Regions from separate parts of the Homo sapiens genome. Here regions 1 and 2 are each linked to region 3. The links are contacts of gene promoters, found by promoter capture Hi-C in blood cells and fetal thymus (Javierre and others, 2016). All regions are on one chromosome and are shown on one strand. The core of a region is centred on a gene start or on the middle of the fragment in contact, and the rest is flanking DNA. Distances in the headings are between cores, read along the strand shown.

The links. The method cuts DNA at HindIII sites, captures the fragments that hold promoters and counts their contacts. A CHiCAGO score of 5 or more calls a contact.
Region 1: a fragment that was not itself captured here is called in contact with the fragment with the promoter of C11orf16 in region 3 in 1 of 17 cell types (M2 macrophages); the score reaches 5.3 in M2 macrophages.
Region 2: a contact is called between a fragment that was not itself captured here and the fragment with the promoter of C11orf16 in region 3, in 1 of 17 cell types (M2 macrophages). The highest score is 6.2, in M2 macrophages.

Annotation. Positions count from the first base shown.
Region 1 is chr11:9,112,413-9,116,556 of GRCh38, reverse strand. It overlaps LOC105376542 (a long non-coding RNA gene), which reads left to right. Exons shown (of 4, transcript XR_007062585.1): 2 at 26-209; 3 at 3,071-3,158. Among named protein-coding and RNA genes, the nearest start is that of SCUBE2, 23 kb to the right of the region's middle. The HindIII fragment of the contact is 524 bases long and covers 2,614-3,137 here.
Region 2 is chr11:9,137,393-9,141,844 of GRCh38, reverse strand. DENND5A (DENN domain containing 5A) reads left to right here. Exons shown (of 23, transcript NM_015213.4): 23 at 1,991-3,020. The coding sequence ends at 2,174. Among named protein-coding and RNA genes, the nearest start is that of SCUBE2, 48 kb to the right of the region's middle. RefSeq lists enhancers at 2,529-2,823, 3,637-3,826. The HindIII fragment of the contact is 1,904 bases long and covers 1,015-2,918 here.
Region 3 is chr11:8,931,603-8,936,041 of GRCh38, reverse strand. It overlaps C11orf16 (chromosome 11 open reading frame 16), which reads left to right and starts at 3,095. Exons shown (of 7, transcript NM_020643.3): 1 at 3,095-3,141; 2 at 3,716-3,900. The coding sequence starts at 3,734. RefSeq lists an enhancer at 2,638-3,476. The HindIII fragment of the contact is 4,544 bases long and covers 993-4,439 here.

The DNA.
Region 1 (4,144 bases), core at 1,626-4,125, 180 kb before region 3:
CACTTACACTATAAATCCACTACAGATCTGCATGGAAGCCCTGCCCTTTGAAGTCGCTCATGGACCCAGACTGATAGAGGATCTGTCTCAGCACATGCTTCAAGATTCTCATACGTACAGAAAACAGAGAACATGGTTAACCCTGAGCTGGCTCCTAAAGCTTCTTCCCAGAAGATACACACACCACTTAGCCAAAGTAAATCACATAGGTATGTTTAAGTTTAACAAGGCAGGGAGGCACGTAGAATATTTGTGAACAATAGTACAGTTAGCCATATTAATTGTAATGACTTTATCTGGACAAGCATAGCTTGTTTTACTGTACTTTGCCTTGCTGTCCTTCACAGATACTGCATTTTTTTTTTTTTTACAAATTGAAGGTTTGTGGCAATCTTGCATTGAGCAAGTCTGTTGGCGCCATTTTTCCAACAGCATGTGTTCACTTCATGTCTGTGTGTCACATTTTGGTAATTCTTGCAGTATTTCACACCTGTTAATTATTATATCTGTTAGGGTGATCTGTAATCAGTTATCTTTGATGTTACTATTGTCATTGTTTTGGGGTACCACAAACCATGCCTATGTAAGCTCGCAAATTTAATAAATGTTGTGTATATTCTCACTACTCCACTGACTGGCCCGTCTCCCATCTCTCCCCCTCTCCTCAGGCCTCCCTATTCCCTGAAACAAAACAATATTGAAATTATAATCCTACAGTAGCCTCTGTGTGTTCAAGTGAAAGGAAGAGTTGCAAGTCTCTCACTTTAAATTCAAAGCTAGAAATGATTAAGCTTAGTGAGGAAGGCATGTCAAAAGCTGAGATAGGCTGAAGACTAGGCCTGTTGCCCCAAACAGTTAGCCAGGTTGGGAAAGCAAAGGAAAAGTTCTTGAAGGAAATTAAAAGTGCTACTTTAGTGAACATATGAATGATAAGAAAGTCAAATAGCCTTATTGCTGATATGGAGAAAGTTTTAGTGGTCTGGATAGAAGATCAAACCAGCCACAACATCCCCTTAAACCAAAGACTAATCCAGAGCAAGGCCCTAACTCTCTTCAGCTCTGCGAAGGCTGAGATAGGTGAGGAAGCTGCAGAAGAAATGTCAGAAGCTAGGAGAGGTTGGTTCATGAGGTTTAAGGAAAGAAGCCATCTTCATAGTGTAAAAGGGCAAGGTGAAGCAGCAAGTGCTGATAGAGAAGCTACAGCAAGTTATCCAGATCTAGCTAAGATCACTGATGAAGGTGGCTACTCTAAACAGCAGACTTTCAAGGTAGATGAAACAGCCTTCTCTTGGAAGGAGATGCCATCTAGGACTTTCATGGCTAGAGAGGGGAAGTCAGTGCCTGGCTTTGAAGTTTCAAAGGACAGGCCGACTCTCTTGTTAGGCACGAATACAGCTAGTGACTTTAAGTTGAAGCCAGTGCTCATTTACTCAGCCTGTGCTCTATAAATGGAACAACAAAGCTGGGATGACAGCACATCTGTTTATAGCATGATTTACTGAATCTCTTAAGCCCACTGTTGAGACCTACTGCTCAAAAAAAAAAAAAAAAAAAGACTCCTTTCAAAATACTACTGCTAATTGACAATGCACCTAGTCACTCAAGAGCTCTCTGATGGAGATGTACGGGAGATTCATGTTGTTTTCATGCTTGCTAACACAGCATTCATTCTGCAGCCCATAGATCAAGGAGTAGGTGTGACTTCCATGTCTTATTGAAGAAATACATTTCATAAGGCTATAGCTGCCATACATAGTGATTCCTCTGATGGACCTGGGCAAAACGAAAATATTCTATAAAGGATTCACCATTCTAGATGCTATTAAGAACATTTATGATTAATGGAAGGAGGTCAAAATATCAACATTAATGGGAATTTGGGAGAAGTTGATTCCAGCCCTCATGCATGACTCTGACAGGTTCAAGATTTCAGTGGAGGGAGTAATTACTGATGTGGCAGAAACAGCAAGAGAACTAGGATTAAAAGTGGAGCCTCAAGATGTGACTGAATTGCTGTAATCTTATGATTAAACTTGAAGTTGCTTCTTATGGATAAACAAAGAAAGTGGTTTCTTGAAATGGAATCTACTCCTGGTGAAGATGCTGTGAACACTGTTGAAATGACAACAGAAGAGGTAGAAAATTATGTAAACTTAGCTGATTAAGCAGCGGCAGGGTTTGAGAGGATTGGCTCCAATTTTGAAAGAAGTTTTACTGTGGGTAAAAATCCCATCAAACAGCGTTGCATGCTATAGAGAAATCTTTTGTGAAAGAAAGAGTCAATTATGTGGCAAACTTCATTGTTGTCTTATTTTCAGAAATTGTCACAGTTACCCTAGCCTTCAGCAACCAACCACCACCCTGAGCAGTCAGCAGCCATCAATATTGAGGCAAGACCCTCCACCAGCAAAAGGATTACAACTCGCTGAAGACTCAGATGACTGTTAGCATTTTCAGCAATAAAGTATTTTTAAATTAAAGAATGTACATTTTTAGACATTATGCTATTGTACAATAGACTATAGTGTAGTGTAAACATAACTTTTTTTTTTTTTTTTGAGACAGGGTCTCATTCTGTTGCCTAGGCTGGCGTACAGTGGCATGATCTAAGCTTACTGCAGCCTTGACCTATTGGGCTCCAGTAATCCTTCCACCTGTCAGCCTCCTAAGTAGCTAGGACCACAGGCTTGTGCCACCATGCCCAGCTAATTTTTGTAATTTTTGTAGAGACGGGTTTGCCATGTTGCCCAAGCTAGCCTTGAACTCCTGAGCTCAAGCAATCCACCTACCTTGGCCTCCCAAAGTGCTGGGATTACAGATGTGAGCCACCATTCCTGCCCAATCATAACTTTTATATGCAATGGGAAACAAAAAAATTTGTGTGACTCACTTTATTGTAATATTTGCTTTATTGTGGTGGTCTGGAATTGAACCCATAATATCTCTGAGGTATGCCTGTACTTTTAAAAAGTTTCTAAATCCACACTGATACTGTTTGTGAATAATTCATTTTTATCCCTTTCCAACCCTTAGACTTAATTTCTTTTTCTTGTCTTATTGACTTACCTAGGATTCCTAGTACAATGGTGAAGTGATGATAGCAGGTATTCTACTGTGTTCCCTGTTGCAGAGAAGCTTTTAAGTTTTCACCATTAAATGTGAGTTTGCTCTAGGTTTGGGGTAGATATTCTTTATCAGATTAAGAGAATTCCCTTCTACTCTTAGATTGCTAAGCATTATTATCATAAATGGATGTTGACTTTTTTTTTTCTGAGAAGGAGTCTCGCTCTGTCACCCAGGCTGGCGTAATCTCAGCTCACTGCAAGCTCCGCTTCCCGGGTTCATGCCATTCTCCTGCCTCAGCCTCCCGAGTAGCTGGGACTACAGGTGGCTGCCACCACACCCAGCTAATTTGTTGTATTTTTAGTAGAGACGGGGTTTCACCATGTTGGTCAGGCTGGTCTTGATCTCCTGACCTCGTGATCCGCCTGCCTCGGCCTCCCAGAGTGCTGGGATTATAGGCCCGAGCTGCCGCACCCGGCCGGATGTTGACTTTTATCAGAAGATTTTTGTGCCCCTATTGAGATAATTATGTACTTTTTTTCTCTTTTAATAAAGCAGTGTGATTAATTACTTGGGTTGTTTCCTTGGGTTTAATTTGCTGTTCTTTTTCTTATTAGTTTTAGCTTAAGCTGTGTCCAAGACACACTTACACAATCTGTATAATTTCAATTCTTTGAATTCTTCAATTATTTTATTTTCCCCTTCTGTTAGCTTGGTAATTCTATTCCTTTACTCTTCCTTTAGTAGTGACCCATGAAATTATAATATGCACTGGCTTATCAATGTCTAATCTAAATTATTACTCTTTCTCTTTCCAGACAATGTAAGGACCTTTAGAATAACTTCATTTCTTGTCTGGACTTATATGTTACTGTTGTTATATATTTTAATTCTCTCTCTCTCTCTCTCTCTATATATATATACACATATATATATTATGTACAACAATAAATATATGTAATAAAAATATATTGAATATTAAATGTATATATTTAAACCCATTAGATGTTATTACATTATTGTTATTATTTTAAAAATACAATAGTTATCTAGCCTTCCCCCTTTTTTGATGTTCTTCATT
Region 2 (4,452 bases), core at 717-3,216, 210 kb before region 3:
GTGCCCTTAGGGAGATGAGGCCTTAGAAGGTTTCCTAGAAGCCCTGAATTTCCTCTGTGTATCGTGTATGGTCACACACTGCATAAAATGTGCTGCGTAACAACATTTGTCAGTGACGGACTGTTTATGGGATGATGGTCCTATAAGATTATACTCTGTTTTTACTGTACCTTTTATAGGTTGAGATGTTTAGGTACCCAAATACTTACCATTGTGTTTTAGTTGCCTACGGTATTCAGCACAGTATTCCTTCATTTTTATTCTTCAGGCTGCTGTGGCAGGAAGCTCCAGGAGAAGTGTAGAAGAGCAGGCCTGGGGGCTGGTGACAGGGCTGTACCGATTTGTAGCTTAGGAGCAACAGGCTAGACATATAGTAGGCTCTACCATCTAGGTTTGTATGAGAACCCTATAAAGTTCGCATGGTGACGAAACTGTCTAATGACACATTTCTCAGACTGTATCCCTGTCATTAAGCAACACGTGACTTATGTGTGTGGTGATCTGTCGGGGTAGGGATGACAACGTGTATGTAACTCGGGGCAGAGGGGCCCCATTTTGAAAGGAAAGATCAAAATCACACCACTGGGGAAGTTTGAAGCAGAGTATATCTAGTTATTCCTTCATTAGACATTTAAATGGCCTTATGGAAGTTGGTAGGAAGACAGCTGAATAAAACGTGGCCCCTTACCATTTATTTATTTATTTATTTATTTATTTTGAGATGGAGTTTCGCTCTTGTTGCCCAGGCTGGAGTGCAATGGTGTGATCTCGGCTCACCACAACCTCCGCCTCCTGGGTTCAAGTGAGTCTCCTGCCTCAGCCTCCCGAGTAGCTGGGATTACAGGCATGCGCCATCACGCCTGGCTAGTTTTGTATTGTTAGTAGAGACGGGGTTTCTCCATGTTGGTCAGGCTGGTCTTGAACTCCTGACCTCAGGTGATCTGCCTTCCTTGGCCTCCCAAAGTGCTGAAATTACAGGCGTGAGCCACCATGCCTGGCCAACATTTAGAAGCTTACTTGTCCTAATTAAATACAGAGCATGGAAGAAGGTTTTGAGGGTCCAAAAATGAAGTGTACATTCATACAATATGCTGAAAAGGTAGAGGAGAAAGATCAGAGAAGACTTCAGGGAGGAGTTGGTATTTAAGTGAGCCTTTAATGGAAGGAAATAACAGAACGTGGCAAGGGCAGTAATAGGAAACACAGTTGAAAGGAGGGTAGGGCCCCTGAGCTGGGACAGAGAAAGATTCTTTTCATATTAGTACAAAGTTGTTTCATCAGGGGACTGAAGTAATATTAATCTGATATTATGGGTGGTATGCATTAGAGTGGACATGATTATTAGGGGCTATTCCTGTAGGTCAGGTGAGAGAGCATGAAGCTCAAATAAACTTAAGGCAGTTTATTCAGGCTGCATAAAGGGAGAGAATTGGCATAGTGGTTAAAAACAGACTCCAGAACCGCATTCACTAGGTTCAGATCTCAAGTTATCCATTTACTAGCCATGTGATCTTGGACAAGCTACTTAACTTCCATCTACCCTACTTTCTTCATCTATAAAGTGGGGATAATAATAGTACCTACCTCATATCACAGGGTTATCATGAAGATTAAATCTCTTATGTCAGTGCCAGCACATGCTGAGTGTTATGTGAGGTTAGTGCTTATTATTATTCCTGGTGGTGGTAGCTGTGGGAGGAGAGAAGCTCTGGGAGACACCAGTGGTGGGGCTGACTAGGCAGGGCGAGGGAGGCAGGGGAGGAGGAGGCTTGGAGGCTCATGACAGGGCTGATTTGGGTCAGGTTTGTTTGGTGTCCTGGAGCTGAAAGACCTCTTTGCCAGTCCCTGTTTGGGAAAGGGGGGTGTGGGGGGCTGTCAGCTTCTCCAGCTTCAGACTTAGTTCATGGTTTCCCCCTTGGCCTTGCACTAACGCTCTCTCTTCCTTTTCCTTTGCCCCTCTGACCTGCCTGGACTGCTCCCGCTCTGCCAGAGATCACCTCCTACACCACTGGATTGCCCTGCTGGCTGACTGCCCCATCACTGCACACATGTATGAGGATGTGGCACTGATCAAAGACCATACACTTGTCAATTCCTTGATTCGTGTGCTGCAGACATTGCAGGAGTTCAACATCACGCTGGAGACGTCCCTTGTCAAGGGCATCGACATCTGACCTCCCAGCACCAGCCAGCAGCAGGACTGAGAAAGACTCACCCTGCAGCTCTGACCTTTTTTCCCAAAGGGACTTAAGCGATTGTGCAGGAGTAGGAGACAAAATGTACACTCACTGTAAAAAGAAAACTAGAGGATTTTTGGAATAAATAATCTATTTTAGAGTTTATTTGCTGATTTGCTTTTTACACACTTTCATGTGAAAGAGTGATAGGGAGAGGGAGCGAGGCTGGTGCCGCTTATTTTGAAGCTGGTGCCCTCCCTCGCCGTGGCCACATGCTGGAAGCCTGAGGCCTCCCTGGACTGAGCCTGTGGCACTGCGTGCGGGACAGTTATGTTTCCTTGCCCCGTCGCATTAATGAGGCCCTTCCACATCATTTTTAAACTAATGTTTTTCTATATTAACATTATTATGGATATTTGGCTTTCATAGGCCACACACAGGTGTGCTGCGCGGGAAGCCCCATGCTCCAATCAAAGGGATTTTTAGTAGTGCCTCTAAGCAAGCACCGATGAGTCAGTCCCACGTATTTTCTTTTTTGTCAGTATTGTTTGGGAAGGAGACATGCCGGGATGTGTCATCGTGCCAAATACCACATTTCCTGTTGGCACAGTTTCACAGAAGTAAACATAAGCATGTTTTAACAGGTTTTTCTTTTCTTTTTTCTTTTTTAAAATGTTTTATTTATTTAACCCGCCATTGTGTGTTTTTAAGTATTTTCTTTTTTTAAGGAAAGGAAAAGCTTGTCACAATCTAACTGGCTATGTTATTATTATTAAATTTATGTTTTGCAACTTAGAAACCAGCTACAGTATGGCCCACTTAATAAAACACCTGAAACAAAAACTGCATGGATCACTGATTTTTATGGAGGTTTATGAGCAGTGGGTGGCTGCGGGTGCAGTTGGGTCCATCTGTGAGGATGGTCTTGTGGCATCACCTCTCTTTACCAGCAGGCTCGGGGTTGTGGCCTGCCCAGGATGCCCCTGAGGGCCTGGGGTCTCCTGGGTCCTTCTGCCCGCAGTGCTAGGAGCCTTCCTAGCTGTTATGTGGCTGATTCACATGGATGCAGACAGGGTTCTTTCCCCACTCCACAGAGGAGGAGACTGAGACACAGGAGGGAAAAGACCCGGCCAGGGGTGCAGAGGTTGTCACTTGACTGAGACAGGATGGGCCCTTTCTTGAGAGGGTAAGGGAGACCAGGTGTGGGAAGCTGGGGGTCGGGGGAAGCTCTTGAAAGAAAGGTTTGCTTTCCTGGGGATGGCAGGTGGGAGACCTTTATGAGAGGTCCAGCTTCGTTCATTTTTATTCTTCAGGCTGCTTTGGCAGGAAGCTCCAGAAGAAGTGTAACGTGATCAAGTCAGGCACCTCAGACCAATCAGTGCCCTCTTTTATGCTTTCCTGGTTTGCATGCATTTTCCCTTTGCCTGGAATGCCTCCCCTTCACCCACTTTGTGTTTGTTGTACAGGGTTTACTTTAGCAGTCACCTGCTGTGAAGTGTCCCCAATCTCCCTAGGCAGTTAATCATTCCATCCTTGTGCTCCTTCATTTTCTTAGATGCTGGCATCTCCTCTCTGGATTGTCATTGCCTGCTTTCGTGTCAGGCTCAGCCCTTGCACCGTGAGCTCCCAGAGGGAAAAGGGGGATCTCTTGCCTGTCTCCATCCCCTGGGCCTGGCAGGTGGTAAATGCTTCTGAAGAGATGAGGAGAGGGCCCAGAGAGCTGCAGCGCAGCGTCCTGCCTGCAGAGGGGGTGAGAGGCCACACTGCAGCCGTCTGCCTGGAGCCCACGGACAGAGCTTTAGTTCTCTCGGAGAAGGCCGAGGAAAGGGGAAGGAAGGTAGGCAGTACCTCTGGAGCAGGAAGTGGGATTCTTGGCTGGGCAAGAAGGGCAGCATGGAACTCAGCTGTATGTGTTTATATTGTGGGCCTAGGCCTGAGCTTACCTTAAGGCAGGTGCTGGGACCAACTATTTCCTTGCTCTTTGTAACAGCTGATCCTACTCACTTTCTACTGTGTTTTGTTTTGTAATCTTCTGCAAATCTGTTTTGGAATGATGTGTGATATAAGAGAACAGACCTGTTTAGTAGCTCAAGATTTCAAGGACATTTGAGTCAACTGCGTTCTTCCGTGTAGGGCCCAGCCAGGCCTCTCCAGTGGTCCTGGGTAAATCAGGTGTGTTTGGTTCACTCAGCAAGCAGCCCTGCCTGCCTCAGCTTCTGCACCTGCTCTACTTCAGGGCTTCCCAGGCTGTGATTTCAGGGACTGGTAAATAAAC
Region 3 (4,439 bases), core at 1,846-4,345:
ACACCACTCCCAGCCAAAAACATTTTTTTTAGAGATGGGGTCTTCCTATGTTGCCCAGGCTGGTCTCGAACTCCTAGCCTCAACCAATCCTCCCACCCCTGCCTTCTAAAGTGTTGGGATTACAGGTGTGAGCCACTGTGGCTGGCCATCATTACTGATTATTATTATCATTATCTTGTTTTGTCCATAGCATCACCATTCTCTAGGTTCTCTAAGCTAGAAAACTTGGAGCTGCCAGGCCTTTCCTTCATACCTGGGAAGGACAGTCCCTGCCCCGTATCTTGGGGTCTGCCTTCAAAGTGTGTCTATTTCTGCTTCCATGGCCAGCTTCAGCTCTTCCTTCTCCTTTAACTCCCAGGTCCCATCTGTCCCAAGGCCCAGTCAGTGACCTATCCCACACTGTCTATCACACTCCTCTCCACTGCTATGCCTCTATGAAGTCTTCTCCAACTTCCTATCCTAGCCGTTACTTCTTCCTTTATTTTGTATAAATATTTCTCTTGTGGTTGCTATCCTGCTATCTTTAGACACTTTACACACCTATCTCTGTCTTCTTCAGTAGACTGCAAGTTCCTTGAAGATAATTCATCCAGCCTTATTCATCTTCTATTCCTAGTACCCAGCAAAGAGCCTCAAATCAGGAAGGTGTCGGTGAATATCTGTTGTCACTGTTTTCTTATTCCAATCCCGTCACCTGTGTCTGGGTTATTGGTAGCAGTCTCCTGTCTGGCCTCTTGGGATGCGTTCTCAACAGGCTCCACCCTCACTCTCTCTGAAGGTATTTCATGTCACTTCATCGCTTAAGCTGCCTGATGACTTCCTTCTGAACGCCACCTTGTTTAAATTTATCAGCTTAGTTTTCAAAGCTCCCTACTGCAAAACAAAGCAGCAAACATAAGAAGCCGTGTTTTCTCATTTCTCCTTGCCAGCAACATTTCACAAAGCCCCTGACTCTTACCGCAGGCAGCTCTTTCGCTCTTCAGAAAGAAGCTTTGAAGACACGACAGGACAGAGTACACGCCCCTCTCCCTCCTCCACCCCGTCATCTCCTGCCTGAGTCACTACATTCCTTAAAAGATAAATGACCCGAGTTTTGGCCTTTTCCTATATGTAAGATAACATCTGATGGGATTAGCGATGATGCCTCTGTAATCTATAAGCAGGATTACTCTCACACCCACACTCTGATGTGAGTCTGCTTTAATGTGACTCCTAAGCAAGTTCAATGTGATTTTGCATGTGCTGAACCCATTTCCCCCAAACAGAAAATCACAGTCTCGCAAATGTATCCTTCTCTCTTCTCTCTTACTTCCTACCTAAACTAGAATATTCTCCTTTTCCCCTCCTCCACTGAAATCCCACTGTCTCATTCAAGAATCATTCTTTCACTGCCAGAGACTTCACGGGTATTTTTTAATTTATTTTTTATTTTTTGAGACAGAGTCTTTCTTTGTCACCCAGGCTGGAGTGCAGTGGCGCGACCTCGGCTCACTGCAACCTCTGACTCCCTGGTTCAAGCGATTCTCCTGCCTCAGCCTCCCGAGTAGCTGGGATTACAGGCGTGTGCCACCATGCCCAGCTAATTTTTTGTATTTTTAGTAGAGACGGGGTTTCACTGTGTTAGCCAGGATGGTCTCGATCTCCTGACCTCGTGATCCACCTGCCTTGGCCTCCCAAGTGCTGGGATTACAGGCATGAGCCACCGCGCCCGGCCATGGGTCTTTCTTAGACTCTCTGTGTGCCAAATAACTCCGCCTTGGTATACGGTCCTGGGCAGCAGTCATTCTCCTGACTATGAAGTGATGCTTCGGGAGGGCAGTCATCAGTTAAGAGGCTTTTGGTTGCAAGTAAGAAACAGCCCAATCCAGAGTGGCATAATCAATAAGGGGAATTATTGGCTCACAGAGCTGAGGCCTAGAGTAGCAGCACTGCCTGCAGGCAGGACTCAGTACTGTCACCGAGAACCTATTTTCAGCTGGGCGTTGGGGTGCATGGCTGTAGTCCGAGCTCCTTGGAAGACTGAGGCAAAAGCATCCCTTGAGCCCAGGAGTTTGAGGCCAGCCTGGGCAACCCTGTCTCAAAACAAACAAACCAACCAACCCTCTATTTCCTGAGGTCTATCCTCTCTTTCTCTGGGAATAGCTTCAGTGTTCCCAAAAGGCTGTCAGAGGCTCTCAGAACTATCAGCTTTCTTATTCAGGCATAGGAAGAAAGAGAAAGCCTATATCCCAGGATTCCCAACCAAAGTCTCCAGATTCCTGCTGATTGGAGAGGTTCAGGAACACGCCACTGCCTGACCAACCCCTGGGGCCAGACGGGGATGGAAGGGGTGACTGACACCCACTCTACCCCTGGAGGTGGGTACTTTGGCCTCCCTATCCACATGGATCTGCCAACTGAAACAGGACCTGGTAGAAGCGGGGTATGAATGTGGGGGAGACACATCCAAACGTGCCTGCATACCAGGCATATAACCAGTGCACAGTGACTGGCAGAGGCCTCCAAATACGAGCCCCTCCCACAAGCAGAATCTGGACTTCTGTTCCTTTGTTGCCAGTGTCCACACCTCTCACTCCAAATGGTCACAACACCTCTGCTCCTCAACAGAGTCCTGCCTGTTATAGACAAACAGGCCCACACCTTTGGTTATTTTGGTTTAGACTAGGGACAAATTCTATCCTAGAGTCCCCAGGCCGCCAGTGGCTCCCCCATTCCTGCCTCTAGTGTGTACAGGGAGGACGCCCTCAGTTTCTGCGGAGGTGGCTCCTCCCTCACAGGAGTCTCCTGGGATCCGTGAGGGCTTCCCACCACCACTGACTCTTCCAGCAGTGGAGCAGCCTGAGCTTTGGAGAACTGAGGCTACACTGGCCTTTTTCCCTTCTTCCTCCTCCTCTTCTCTCCAAAGGGAAACCTGGAGAACACCCCCTCCCCCATCACTTCCTGCCCCACCCCTACCTCCCAAGGCCTCCTGTCCCCCTCTCCGCATGCTCGGTGCACTCACTGGCCACAGACGACAGCGTCCCCAGGCTGCACCCATGGTAACCGGCGTGGCAACCAGGAGTCGGTTGGGCTGAGACCCTGAGCCCCAACTGTCAGAAGGAGCCTGAGGCTGAGGTGGAGGCTGGGAGTTTGGGGCTGTGGGTAAGTCCTTGTGGGGTCAGACCTGTGGACTTGGGCAGGGGCAGACCCTCACGGGGCTCTGGTGGGCTGCAGCAGTGCGGCTTGATCTTGGGCCCTGGTGGCAGCTGTCTCCTCTGAACAGGGCTGGAAAGGGGATGGACGGCCCTGAGATCTCAGCTTGCCTGAGGCCAGAACTAGCCTTGTAGGTGGCCGGGGAGGAGGAAGGAGGAAAAATACTAACATAAGTTGAGCTGCTGAATACGCCAGGTGCTTTCCATGTATTCTATCCTGAGTGTAACTGGAGAGCAGAGGTTAAGTGAGCACACAGCCAGCAGGCTGTAGGGGAGGATTTAAAGCTGGGCTGCTCTAAACTCACAGCACTTGCTCTTCCAATCCCTTCCCTGTTTCCTGAGTGGAGGTTCCCAAGGCAGGTGACTCAAAGAGGAAACTGTGAGAGTTTGTGGGAGCAGGTAGGGCCGTGCATGGACTCAACTGTCCCCAGAGGCAGCTAACTGCAGAGCTGAGCCCTGCCTCGCCCCGGTGGCCACTGCTTGCTTCAAGCTGCAGCTCAGGTAATGGTGGTGCCTATTCTCAGGTGGATCCTCTGAAGGCCATGGAATCCTCCACGGGGCCCAGGATGCCTTTGCTCAAATACTGCAGCGTGGCCACAAGCCTGAAGGCCCCTGGCTGGGACGGTGCTGCTCCACCTTGGGACCTCTCCTTCACCTACCCCTTTGCCCTCCAAGCACCCTGGCTCACCGGGCACAAGCCCCTTGCAAGGTACCTGTCTCTGCCCCTCTGGGGGAAGTGGATGCCCTTTTCTTTTTCCTTTGTTCTTGGCTGTTGGTGGTAGACCTTGGTGGACAGACTTGCTTCCTGAGAAGGTGGAAAGGGGTCGTCATTGTTTGGCCTATGATTGGCATATCTGTGTGGGGTCTGTCACTCCAGCCTACATTGTGCTCCCAGAGCCCTCCAGGGTTGATCTGGCTTTAGCAGAGTTGCAGATGCTGCAGTTGGCATGAGTAAGAGAAGGCAGTTAGGGATAGCCAGTTACCAAGTTTATAGCTCATTTTACCATCAATGCTGAGACTTGGCTGGGCGCAGTGGCTCACACCTGTATACAATCCCAGCACTTTGGAAGGCCGAGGCAAGCAGATCACTTGAGGTCAGGAGTTCGAGTCCAGTCTGACCAACATGGCAAAACCCCATCTACTAAAAACACACAAAAAATTGGCTGGGCATGGTGGCTCATGCCTGTAATCCCAGCACTTTGGGAGGCCAAGGCAGGTGGTTCACCCAAGGTCAGGAGTTCGAGACCA